Regions from separate parts of the Homo sapiens genome. Here all the other regions are linked to region 4. Evidence: promoter capture Hi-C in 16 types of primary human blood cells and fetal thymus (Javierre and others, 2016). All regions are on one chromosome and are shown on one strand. The core of a region is centred on a gene start or on the middle of the fragment in contact, and the rest is flanking DNA. Distances in the headings are between cores, read along the strand shown. Region 1 has its middle 320 kb from the start of MC4R. Region 2 has its middle 440 kb from the start of MC4R. Region 3 has its middle 300 kb from the start of MC4R. Region 4 holds the start of CDH20 (cadherin 20).

Region 1 (3,129 bases), core at 322-2,821, 640 kb before region 4:
GTTGTTCTTGGATGATCTTCACTCTGTATATCCCAAATGTAATAGTCATCCTTTTAAAAATGACCTTTGATTTTATTTGTTTGTTTTTGTTCACAAAATGTGAAGGCATTGATGAAAACTCTGTCTGTGGAGTTAGGCAGCCTTCTTTCATACCCAATTCCACCACTTCGTGACTGTGAATTTTGGCAAGTCACTCAATTTTTCTAAGGGTATTTTCTCATCTGTTGAAACAGGAAAATTAAAAAATTATGAAGTTTAAAATTTTTACATATTAAGTGCACCACATTTTAAGTGTGAGCTGTTTGTCAATAATAATTTTATTGCTATCTTTACTATTGTTATTACCTCATTTCACCAAATTGTGATTCAACACTAGAAGTTGGCTGTAAGTCTTACAATTTGATATATGTATATATTTTTTAACTCTGAGGTACGTTCATGTTCCAAATTATTCTGCCTTATTTTCTGTGCAAATTTTCTGAAATTTACACAGAGTATTGAAATGAGCATGTCTTCATAAGTGCATCAGAGCAAAACAAAAAAGACCTAGAGAAAGACTACAGTTTTACGTGAGCCAGAGAATAATATAGGATGTATTCATTTTCTATTGCTGCATTACCACAAATTTAGGAACTTAAAACCACCACCATTTACCATCTTACAGCTTCTGCAGGTCAAGTCCAGGCACAGCAAAGATAAGGCCTCTGCTTAGGATTTTACAGAGTCTCTCTCTCTGTCGTCTAGGCTGGAGTGCAGTGGTGCGATATCGGCTAACTGCAACCTCCGTCTCCTGAGTTCAAGCGATTCTCCTGCTTCAGCCTCCTAAGTAGCTGGGACTACAGGCATGTGCCACCATGTCTGGCTAATTTTTGTAGTTTTAGTAGAAACAGGGTTTCACCATATTGGCCAGGCTGGTCTTGAACTCTTGACCTCAGGTGATCCGCCCAGCTCCGCCTCCCAAAGTGCTGGTATTACAGGCATGAGCCACTGTGCCCAGCCTGCTTAGGATTTTAAAAGCTGAAATCAAGGTTTTGGCTAGGGCTGTGTTCTGTTCTGGAATTCAGTGTTTTCTCCCAAGCTCTTTCAGATTGTTGACTGAATTTAGTTCCTTGTGGTGCAGAACTAATGTACCTGGGTTTTTTGTTTGTTTGTTTTGCTGGCTATGAGCAGGATGGCCAGTAGAAAGACTCAAGGACACCCCTGTAGTGTCATCCAGAAGCAGTTCACAACATCATTGTCTGCTTTCTTCCAGGCCAGCAGGAGTGTCTGCTGCTGCATCTTGTATCTTTTAAGGGCTCACCTGATTAGGTCTCATCCAAGATAATTTATCTTTTGAGAACTCAAAGCCAACAGATTAGGAACTTTAAAGTTATCTGAAAAGTCTATTTTGCCATATTACATACTATCATCAAGGGATTAAATTTCCATCATATTTACAGCTTCTATTTGCACTCAGGGGAGAGGATTATATGGATAGCAGGCAACTTGGGGGCTATCTTAGAGTTCCGCCTACCGGAATTTTGCTTGAGTGACAAAGGCATTAATAAAAGTTTAATATTGGCTCTACTAGTCAGTAATCTTTTCATGGAAACAAACTATCATATGCAAGACATTGAAATAAATCTAATTTAGGAGTATGAAAGAGATCAAAATCTATAACGGTGTACAGAGCAAACAAAGGCTTGAAATGCAAGTGGACGAAAAATGACGGAAGAAGAACAGAAGTGAGACTGCCCTGCTTGGTGACAGGCTTAAGGAAAAGTGAGGTTCAAACACGAGGTGGAGTCAGTCTATAGGGAGTCCTTTTGCCCCAGCAAGAAAATATGAATTCCACAAATTTGTATCAGAGAAATGTAGTTGTGTTTCCTACAGACTCTTAAGCACAGAAAGGGAATATTTGCAAATAAAAATATTTGTTAAGATATATAAGGAGAAGCTCATTGGATAATTTGTGTTTTTTTTTCCTCCAAAATGAGGTAATAACCTCAGAAGAAAATATTAATTCAAAATATTTGTTATTAAATGGTTTAAACATTTATCTAACCTCAGAGGATGAGAGAAAAAAATAAGTTTAGAAATGTTAGATGAAAGGATAAAATAGGCCAATTTGATTACATGTACATAAGCGTTCTCCATGACACTCATGTTTGATAAACACAGTAAATATGAATAAAACATAGATGGTTAATTGTATGTGAGCTCATTATGTAGTAAATAAATGATAGTGGTTTTTTTTTAAGTTAGTGTAAAATGCCTTAAGGGGGCATAATTTGAACATATCTACTATTTTCTGAATGTTTATCATATGTCAGTGGGCTCAGTGCTTTAGACGTATTACCTACATTTTAATGTTTAGTTGATATTAGTGTCTCAGTTTTATGAGTAAGGAAACTGATTTGAAGAGGTTAAGTGCCTCAGGTCACAAGACCAGTGAGTGAGAGCCCCTAGAGGAAGCTGAAACTAGACCTGACTTGAAAGCCTCCTCCTCTACCGGCCTGCCCCGATTAAAGGGTGGTTAAGAAAGAGGATTCAGCCGAGACACACATACATAAGGTAAGATGCTTAGTCTTCTTATTAATAAAATAATTTTAAATGAGATATTATTTTCATTTATCAAATTATAAATAATTTTTTTCTGAACTCTAATTGGTATATTTCTCCACTTGATTGGTCCTCAAATGACAGCAGATTCAGCAACATACCTCGTTTAATACCCTTGGTTTATGTTTTGAAAACATTGGTACATTATCAAATAATAGAATTTCTAAAACCTGGTATCCTCTTTAGTTTTGTCTAATTTTCTCTGATGACTAAGAAATCTGAGAACATTTTCCTAAAACGATTTACAGACATCATTCTTGGATCAGTACTAAACAGAGTAGGATATGAAAGTTGTTGATTGGGCCGGGCGCGGTGGCTTACGCCTGTAATCCCAGCACTTTGGGAGGCCGAGGCCGGTGGAGCACGAGGTCAGGAGATCAAGGCCATCCTGGCTAACATGGTGAAACCCCGTCTCTATTAAAAACACAAAAAAGTGAGCTGGGGGTGGTGGCGGGCGCCTGTAGTCCCAGCTACTCAGGAGGCTGAGGCAGGAGAATGGCCTGAACCCGGGAGGCGGAGCTTGCAGTG
Region 2 (3,080 bases), core at 441-2,940, 520 kb before region 4:
GAAATAAGTCAAATAACCTGAATGATTCTCACCATATTATGCATAAAAGAAGGTAAATAATCTTACATTAGAAGCGTGATGTAAAAGTCAATCTAATTGTGTATATGTTAAAATAAAACCTTTCTGAATAGGTGACACTCTGAAAAACATTGTAGAATTGTTTAGAGATGTTGACACAGCAAAAAGTATAGTAAGTTCCTAAAATGTATTGAAGTAGAGAACAGCTTTTCTTGGACTTAAATTTTAAATGAACCTTGAAGTGTTATTAAAAATGTTAATTTTAAGAAGGAAGAGCCTTTCCAGGAAGAAATTTTCCAAATATCTGGGTTCCTAATGACTACTTCTTAAGTCTTGTGAATACTCGAAATAGAAACTCTTGCATTTTTATGATTAATCAACCTCTTATGTTCTAAGCCTGAGATCATATTTATCTATTTATCTATATATCTATCATCTATCTATCTCACTACATACACACACACACACTTCAGTAGGTAGCAGCAAAGGCTTTCTCTTTCACTGTGTTATTTTAACTTTCATAAGAGAAAAGTTGCCTTACTATAGAAAGAATATATTCCCAATTCCATGTTCACAGCTTTTCTTTAATTATCATCTTTCTTAACCACATTTTTCACTTCATAAACTTGGCATACATGTTATATAAGAAAGTTTAAAGTATGATCTGAAGTGCAAAGTAATATATATTTCAAAAAGATATTAAGTAGGCACAAAGATTAATTTGTTTTTTGTTAATCTCATCCTCTATTTTTCTCTTCATTAACACTTATTTCTGTGCCCTTTGGTAACTGGGAAAGACATAGTGAGTAAATTGTAAGGGGAAAAATCCTCATTACTTCATGAAAACATGCGTCATAAGGTCAAATTAAGGATTCAACATAACCCTTCCCTGTTAGTCGCGCTACTTATATGTTATTTATTGCAAAGGTAAAAGATACAGTTTATTTTCCAACTTGTAGCATTAAACATTTTAAATATTAAAGATGATAGAAAAACTTGGTTTGCATTTTCCTTTTGTGGACTCCAGAGGGCAGCATGCATTCTTTCAATGTCATAAAAGGTTAATAATAGCTATCCATCTATCTTTTTGTCTGTCTGTCTTTCTATCTATCTATCTATCTATCTATCTATCTATCTCTTCCATTGACTTTATATCTGTATTTCTGGGTAGAGACAAGTAGATCCCTGCTAAAAAGAAGAAATGAGAGAAATTATATATATATATATATATATATATATATATATATATATATATATATATTTAAATTATTAGATACTTTCTTTGCATTTCCAAAAGAAAAAACACAATGTGGTTAACTAAGCAGAACATATCCTTCTGGACCTTCCAAAAGTACTAAATATAAAATAACATTATTTTACTTTCATTTTAAAAACTATTTAATTTTATAAATAATTAAGCTTTTGAATAGATGCTGAAAATTACTCCATTCTTTATATAACCAACAAAACAAGACTAGAAAAGTAAAACTGACTTTCACCAGGACAAACAATGAATTTTCCTAAGAATAAAGGATGATATGGTAGCACATTCTGGACAACTTTTAGATGTCTGAATATATAGCAAGGGAAACTTAGATACTCCCTGTGTAAAGGGCTATCTTGTGCATTTACTTGTCTAGACTTTTAATAAATCAAGACCAGTCAGTGACCATTTATAAAGTGCTGGCATTATTCTAATTATAGAAGAAGTGTGTGATATATAACTGTAGGGGATGTGGAAAGACAAGCCTGTGTTTTTCAACTAATGATGCTTTTAATGACCTCTCCTCACAAGCTACTCAATGAACAATTTAGAAGAAGGTAAAGGTAATAAAGAGAGCTTTATTCTACTTACTTCTCTCTTAATTTCATCTTTTGGTTTGTTTTAATCAAGAAAAAATGGGACAAAATAATCATTTCACAGATAAAGCTTTAGTTAATGGTAGAGGAAAGAATATCAATCTGGAATTGAGCATTGAAAATTTGAAGCACCTGGGGGAGATTCTGCTTACAGAGAGAATGGGGACAATAAATGAGGACCATGGAAAAGGTAAAAGTGGCATTTTACTAATAATTATACATGAAATTACAGCGATTACATTTATTTTCCACTAAATTAAAACAAAACAAAGTTGCGACTAATGTTTAAAAATGCAAGAAAAGGAAAATGCAGTATTTTGATATGATATGCACACCTGCTTATATTTGTCTCTGGTTGTTTGCAGGACCTGGTCACATAAACTTTCACAATGGTATTTTTTTTTTTTTTAATGGAAGGGAAGCCCAAGTTCCTTATTTCTACTTGCAAGAAAATTAACACTTGGGAGAAAGTGCAGAATGATTGAAAGATGATCTTAACAAATCATTACATTTTTCTTTTTGGTCTTAACAAGTAGAAATAAAGCTACATCTATGGGATTCTTTAACATGAGCACTGTAATTTACATGCAAAATAAATTCAGGTGGAGCTATTCAGGGAGACTAGGTATAGCAGGATCACCATTTGTCAGAGATTATTACTCTAGAAGGCTCCCTAGGAGAAGCATAAATTTGTCCTGAAATAACACATTGCGTAATAACAGCAAGGAGCTTGTCTCTGCACTTCTCAAAGGCTGCACACCTGTGCAGAGAGACCTTCCCACTGAGCCTATCAAGCTAACCTGCTCATTCATGTGGCAATCCCAGCCCTTAGTTAGGAACTACTGAAGCAATCACAGAACCATCAATTTACCCACTAACATGTTGTCTTTGAAACATAACGGGGATAGATCTATTTCATTTGAAACCCTAAATGCTTTAAGAAAGACTGGGTTAGTAGGAAGATACCAAACACTGGATTTAAGTAATCCTAAATTTAAAAAAAAAATCTCAATAGTTTGGCTCATTCATTAACTATGAAGATCAGTGTCCTCATATCTAAATGGAGAATAATAAAGTCCTCATCAGAGGATTATTGTGATGATGATAATTGCTTTAGGCAAAGTGTCTAGCGCAGTGCCTGGAATAATTGAGCATCTCTGCTTGTGTTGGAATCAGGGGGCCTATAATATTACAAACTCAGA
Region 3 (3,412 bases), core at 456-2,955, 660 kb before region 4:
TACTCTTGTGATTTTTTACAAATACAAATATATATATATACACACACACACACACACATACATATGTGTGTATGTATATACATGCATAAATACACAGTGTATATAAATATATATGCATATATATCCAGATATACATTTAAATATAAACATATGTATGTACCTTAACTTAGATACATCTTTCTATGACCACTTTTTGTAGACTCATTTGTTTGTTACCTAATCATCATGAATAAAATGTGGCTAAATTGTTCTTAAGAAAGTTTTCTGTTTAAAATCTTTAAAAAATAATTATTAATGTTTTGTTACAGAATGCTTAAGTATAAAGACTCTAGATATAAAACCGCTAATCCATAGAAAATATATACCTATCTTAAATATAAAACTTTAAGATTTTAATATCTTCCAATAAATACCTAAGCAGTTCATGAAATCATACTTGAAAACAATATGAATTTAAGAACATGATATTTCCTTAAATCAGTTACAATGATGTAACCATCTATTTAAATAAATAAAACCAAAATATTCTCTTTTCATCCATACTGAGTTCTATTCTCAGGGTCACAAAACTGACAAATTGACTTTGAGAACTGTGTTGAACAAGCTAGTGGACAATTACTACATAAAGAGGACAATTGATTCTGTTTGGATGAAAATGACAGTTCTACCAGTCATTTTGTACAAATAGTAAAAGAATGTTTGTGAGAATAAAAATATTAACTACAACTTGATATAGGCTATTCTTTAAATTTCCAATAGTCAATTCCATATAACCAGCTATTAAAAGCTGTGTTCATTTAATGTCTCAAGTGCTGTAAAACATATTAAAATTTCAAAAGTGCATTTTATTGAAATAAAATATTGTATTAGAGAAAAAATTTAAAAAAACAATGTGTTGATATTGTGTAAGGCAGTTGATGTTTTAAGAGCAGGTGGTAGGTTACTCTCTAAATAAAAGGAGAAAATTCTGCTACTTCATATACATTGCAAATCTAGGTTTAATCAACTTCCACAAAACCACTTTACCTTATGTATTAACATATGAAATATGTACATTATATATGAAAGTAAGTTTATTATTTAGATTAACATAAAAAATAAAAAAATAAGAAATGTGATGTAGGTTTAAATGCTTGTAGGTTTCTAATAATAGCTTGAAGATAAGCCATGAAAATAACGGCTAGGTTGTATTCAAAATTCTGATTGATATTTAGGTTGAAATGATAATTAAAAAATAGTTTAGCACTCTCCCACTCAATTGTGTCAAGATTAAATTTACTCCAAAGTTGGGCATTGTTTCCAGCCACTCTGCCTGTTGGCATTTATTCAGAATGATGGTAAGCTGACTGCTGACTATTGGCATATCTAAAAACCATGAAAACTCAAACACTCCAAATGCAACATTAACGTATGTGGTATATGTATAATTTTCTGTCATTTGACACATAAGCTTAAAAAGTTTGTATGATTACCTCAGTTTCAACTAAATTTAGGACTTAGTTTGACCCACAAATTATCCAACATTCTTATAATCAGTGATCTCTACTCCCATTCCACCAACTCTCTCAGAGTCTCTTTGGTCTGTGGTGCTCACCTTTTTGTTCATTAAAGCCCTTACAGAGAGAGCCATGCATAAACATCCTATCATCCAACCCTTCTCAAAGCCTTTCTAGAGATCCTTCCAGTTGGCATCAGGAGACTGTGGCTATCATGGACTCTACCCATTCTTACTATTACTAGTGTGTTTGAACAGTAGATATTTCTTTCATTCTTTGGTTAGCTTCCATTCATTAGTTCATTTTTCATTTATCAGAGTGAGGAGCAAATTTGGTTTTCTTCTTCAGATTTGTTAATTATCTGAACCTTATATATAGTTCTTGCATCTGAAACACATTTTCTTCTCTGGCATTCTCCAGGTCAATACGTACACTTTCATTAATTATCTGCATATATACTGGACAAAGCTTTAAATGAGGTACAATCTGTTTTCCATATTTTGCCCTGAGAAAATGGCAACCTCTACCTTAATTACAGGTAATTTTTTTTTGCAATCTTTTGTGTCTGTTAAATAGATCTGAACTTAACTTCTACAAATTCTCAAATTTTTCCACATTTATTTTTCCCATGAAGGAGGCAAATTTAACTTTTCAAAAAGCATTTTCCTACATCTAAATAAATTAAAAGAATATCATCTCTGACAGTCCTTGAAATTCCTGTGATGAGTAGAGGAAATTTTATGAAATTCACTGGTGTAGAGCTGAACACCTGCTTCGAAAAGGAGTGGGAATTAAACAGTTGGAACACATGGACACAGGGAGGGGAACATCACACACTGAGGCCTACCATGGGGTAAGAGGCAAGCGGAGGGAGAGCATTAGGACAAATACCTAATGCAAGTGGGGCTTAAAACCTAGATGATGGGTTGATAGGTGCAGCAAACCACCATGGCACATGTAAACCTATGTGATAAACCTGCACATTCTGCACGCGTATCCGAGAACTTAAAGTAAAATAAAAAATAAAAATAAAAAAGGGGATTCAGTTTACTTCATACTAACATATGTTCCTTGCACATCACTTTGCTTAAATTTCTCTGATATCTGTAGCAGAGCATCTGAAAATAATCTGTAGTAATAGCATTTTGACATTGCAGCCTCCGTGGACCTGCATGCACAGGAGACTATGACTTGCTTTTATATCTCATATTATTGCCTTTTCTACATGAATGGTACAAGTTTTTTGAATATTTCACTTAAAAGTGCTCACAAATATATTTCCTAGCTCTGTCTTCCTAGAAACAATGATAGCTTAATAGCACAAGGTATACCTAGTACTCAAAGCTTGATTTTAAATACCAGTCTCCAATAAAAGGAACGATGAATGCTTAGAGAAATGGCTGGTTTTAGGGCTTGAAGAGGAAATGTACAATACAAGCCTGGAACAACTTGTGATGACAGAAAACCCGGAAGTAAGACCCAAAACAAACAAAAAATTAATAAGGGAAGAAAGCATGTCAAAAGGGCACAGGATCCAATAATCCACTGGAAGGACTTCCCAATGGCCAAAGCTGAGACAGTCTGGGTAACAAAATAAACATTGGTAGTATTAGATTATAACCTGTAAAATAAGATAAACCCCCATGAGTCCCTTCTGATATAAGTGAATAATTAAATGGGGAAAAAGGACTTTACTTACATTAGAAAAAATGAGGGAACTATAAAGTCATCATTAAACAAACACCAAAATAATAGTTGTTGCAGGTAACAACAATGGATACTAAAATTAGTGGACAAAAGTATGATGAAAAACAGGATATTTCGTGGTCTCAAAGTATTTCTCATGTGTTACTTTGCTGTGAAGAAACCTGGCAGATGCCACCTTAGTGATGGGATCAAAGTTAATATTGCAGCAA
Region 4 (3,541 bases), core at 760-3,259:
AAAAAAAGACTCATGATTTTCTCTAAATTTTGTGTAAGAAATTGATCACCAAAAACAAGTCACTTCAACAAAACACCAAGAAACTGATTTTCTTTTTAGACAAGAAGACAGTTTAAGCTGCTAGAGACCGGAAGGCCCTGGACCACTAATCAGAGTCCTTTGGGTCAAAGTTGATCTCCCCACTTATGAGCTATATGACCTGGACACACTACAGTTGATCCTTGAACAACAAAAGTTTGAACTCTATGAGTCCACTTAGACATGGATTTTCTCCCATCTGTCATCCCTGACAGGGCAAGACCAAGCCTCCCTCTTCCTCCTTCTCCTTCACCTGCTCAACATGAAGCCAACAAGGATGAAGACCTTTATGATGATCCACTTCCACTTAATGAATAGTAAATACATTTCATTTTCCTTATTATTTCCTTAGTATCATTTTCTTTCCTCCAGACTATTGTTAAGAATACAGCATATAAAATGTATAGCATATAAAATATGTGTTAGTCGACTGCTTATGTTATCCATAAAGTTTCCAGACAACAGTAGGCTATTAGTAGTTAAGTTTTTGGAGTGAAAAGTTATATGCGGATTTTTGACTACACGAGGGTCAGTGCTCCTAACCCCCATGTTGTTCAAGGGTCAACTGCCCTTACTTTATTGAGCCACATCTGCATCATCTATTAAAATAGAGAAATAATAGTCTAGACTGAATAGAGTTGTTGGAAAAATGAAATGAAATAACATGTGTAACACATGTCTGTCACATAACAAGTTCTCCATAAACATTAGCTATTCTGCTATTAATAATCATTGTTATAACTATGAGTTCTAATTCTAGGCCTGCTGAAAGCTATTAAAATATGGCATGACTGCCTTAACTGGGATACTATTTCTATTGTCACACACTTGGGAATCTTATTGGATGTTTATATATATCATTTTATCAGTTCTTTACACACATTGATCATTTGGCCACAGAGCAGTTGTACAAATAGATTATTTAGTAACCTATCAATTCAATCAAAATAACTTGCTCTATTACAATCAGTGATGGGGGAGGAAATCCTCCAAGCACCTTGCTTGAAGAGAAATGTAGAAACCACATCGGGCAAAAAGTCCCCCTCCAGCCACTGTGAAACCCAAGTTGTCGTCAGTAACTTGACATTCTAGGGTAGGAATCAGGACAGGAGAGAGGTGATCTCTCCTTTTGACCTTGTGTATTCTGACCTCAGAAATAAGAGCTGGAATTGCCTTCTGGAATGGGCCTGTCACAGTATTGTGTGATTTGGGGGACCCCCTTCATCTGGGAGAGAAGGGTGGTCTCAGCTTCCACCTCAGAAATTTCTGACCCTTAATATACCTCCACCCCATCTCTAGTTAAAGGCTTAAAACTCTAAGATTTTCCTATGAGGACAAAAAGAAAAGGAAATCTGAGCATTTGAAGAAATTCTTAAAAGTCGATGAGTGAGGTTTCCCTCACACATGCCATCTTCCCCTACCTCTCCTCTTGAAAACAATGTCTTTTGCACCCTCAAGGTCAAGGTTAAACCCGAGTTGGTACTCATTTCCTTTCTGATTTTATTTGCCTTATCCTGTTCTACTCCTCAATTGCCTCTTCCAGAATCTGTGCAAAATAATTACCTCAACTTCAGGGGAAAGTTTAGATGTAAATACCCCCGCCCCCCTCCCCACGTCCACACATCCCCTTTCTTCTCTCTCCCTCTTAACATTTCCTTACGCTCTCAGCCAATAGAGGAGTTGAAACATTTAAATGCGGTATCTAAACTGCATTTAAAGAATTAACCCATTTTGCCCCTCACTGGTCTAAACCACAGGGTGCCAACCGGACGTTAATTGCTTTCATCTGGTGGGGTTCCAGACAGCTCCTCAGAAGGAAGGAGCGCACATTCCTGGCACCAATTGGCTAATTCAATTTACTTCAGCGGCATTAGCCTCTGTCAGAATATTCATGAGCAGGGGAATGAGGACCCGCGGTACAGGCAGGCAGCAGCCACTCCTGCTAGGGAAGGCGCGAGGGAGGGGAAGCGGACCGCGCGCCACGCTCGGGGGACGGTGACCGCGACCAGGGGGCTCTTCTCACTGGACAGGCCGAACGCGGTGGCCGCGGGAGGGCAGGGCAGGGCATCGGCGGGGTTGGTGCACTTGGCAGTACCCCCCAACTCCTGGCAACCGCACGGAGACTTTGCGAAACATCCGAAGGCAGAAAAGCTGTGACACTTCTGACAGAGGGGGTAGGGGGGTGGGGGGCGGGGACAGCGCCGCGAGCAGGGGTGAAGAGACCCAGCGGGGCACCAGCCGCCCAGTGGGGGAGGCAGCTACGTGAGCAGAACGCCCGCCCTGGAGCAGTTAGGACCGAAGGTCTCCGGAGAGTCGCCGGCGGTGCCAGGTAACGCAGAGGGCTCGGGTCGGGCCCCGCTTCTGGGGCTTGGGACTCCGGGCGCGCGGAGCCAGCCCTCTGGGGCGAAATCCCCGGGCGGCGTGCGCGGTCCCTCTCCGCGCTGTGCTCTCCCAGCAACTCCCTGCCACCTCGACGAGCCTACCGGCCGCTCCGAGTTCGACTTCCTCGGACTTAGTGGGAGAAGGGGTTGGAAATGGGCTGCCGGGACTGGGGGAGCTGCTCTCTGGAAGCAGGGAAGCTGGGGCGCACCGGGGCAGGTGGAGGACGTGGCGCGCTGGGAGCGGGGACTGCGCGCGCCTGGGGATGGTGACTGGGGATCCAGGAGCGCGGCTTGTGGGGGCGCTTGGCACGGCTTCACCCTCGCTGGCCCCGCAGGCGGTGGCGCCTCCCTCCGCCTGCAGAGGGGACAGGGTGGCCGCGTCCCTCGCACAGAGATGTGCGCCGGGAAGGGGACCAGAGAGCCAGGCTCCGGGGAGGCGCAGGCACCTACGGGGCCGATCCCTGGTCCGTGCCTCGCGCCGCGCCCCCGCCGGAGCTCGGCTGTGGGAGGAGAATGTGGTGGGTACTCGAGTCCCCGCCACCTGCCGGACTTCGCCAACTCCCCGGATTTCCTGTCCTCGGGCCCTGACACTCCCAAGGAAAGCTCTGAATTGCGCTCGCTGTTTGGTTTTTGCTTGTTGTAGTTACTCTGGGGGAAGAGCCGGGGGCAAGGGGGTCAAATGGGGCTAAAGTTTCAGATTTGCAAAGAGAACGTTACCGAGGACTCTCAACGTGTCCTTAGCAATCGGAGAGACTGCAGCAGCCTTTGCCTAGCTATCCGCCTCTGGGGCAGCAGTGGGGGCTGAAATCTGGAAGGCAGCCCGGAGGCAGCGTCAGAGCCTTGTTTTGTTTTGTTTGTTTCTGCCGAGACCAGGCTGGAAGTGAGAGGGGATAGTACCAGACAATCGGGGAGTTGGTCGCCTGGTAGATTCAGAGTTTACTATGTTGTTGCTATTATTATTAATGCTCTTGTTATTGGCACGAGCACCAGGAACAATTTTTTTTCTGATTGTTATAAATCGCCTGCAAATTGAACCTGCAGCCGCCTCCCCTCAAATGAAATGTCCCCGGACCTCCTCCAGT

The links. Contacts are between HindIII fragments. The CHiCAGO score rates a contact against its expected background, and 5 or more counts as called.
Region 1: a fragment that was not itself captured here is called in contact with the fragment with the promoter of CDH20 in region 4 in 1 of 17 cell types (endothelial precursors); the score reaches 7.2 in endothelial precursors.
Region 2: a fragment that was not itself captured here is called in contact with the fragment with the promoter of CDH20 in region 4 in 1 of 17 cell types (endothelial precursors); the score reaches 8.4 in endothelial precursors.
Region 3: a fragment that was not itself captured here is called in contact with the fragment with the promoter of CDH20 in region 4 in 1 of 17 cell types (endothelial precursors); the score reaches 5.4 in endothelial precursors.

Annotation. Positions count from the first base shown.
Region 1 is chr18:60,690,022-60,693,150 of GRCh38, forward strand. No RefSeq gene overlaps it. Among named protein-coding and RNA genes, the nearest start is that of MC4R, 320 kb to the left of the region's middle. The HindIII fragment of the contact is 4,371 bases long and covers 1-3,129 here.
Region 2 is chr18:60,807,543-60,810,622 of GRCh38, forward strand. No RefSeq gene overlaps it. Among named protein-coding and RNA genes, the nearest start is that of MC4R, 440 kb to the left of the region's middle. The HindIII fragment of the contact is 511 bases long and covers 1,436-1,946 here.
Region 3 is chr18:60,671,844-60,675,255 of GRCh38, forward strand. It overlaps the pseudogene LOC100420948. Among named protein-coding and RNA genes, the nearest start is that of MC4R, 300 kb to the left of the region's middle. The HindIII fragment of the contact is 514 bases long and covers 1,449-1,962 here.
Region 4 is chr18:61,331,421-61,334,961 of GRCh38, forward strand. CDH20 (cadherin 20) reads left to right here and starts at 2,010. Exons shown (of 12, transcript NM_031891.4): 1 at 2,010-2,407. The HindIII fragment of the contact is 13,774 bases long and covers 1-3,541 here.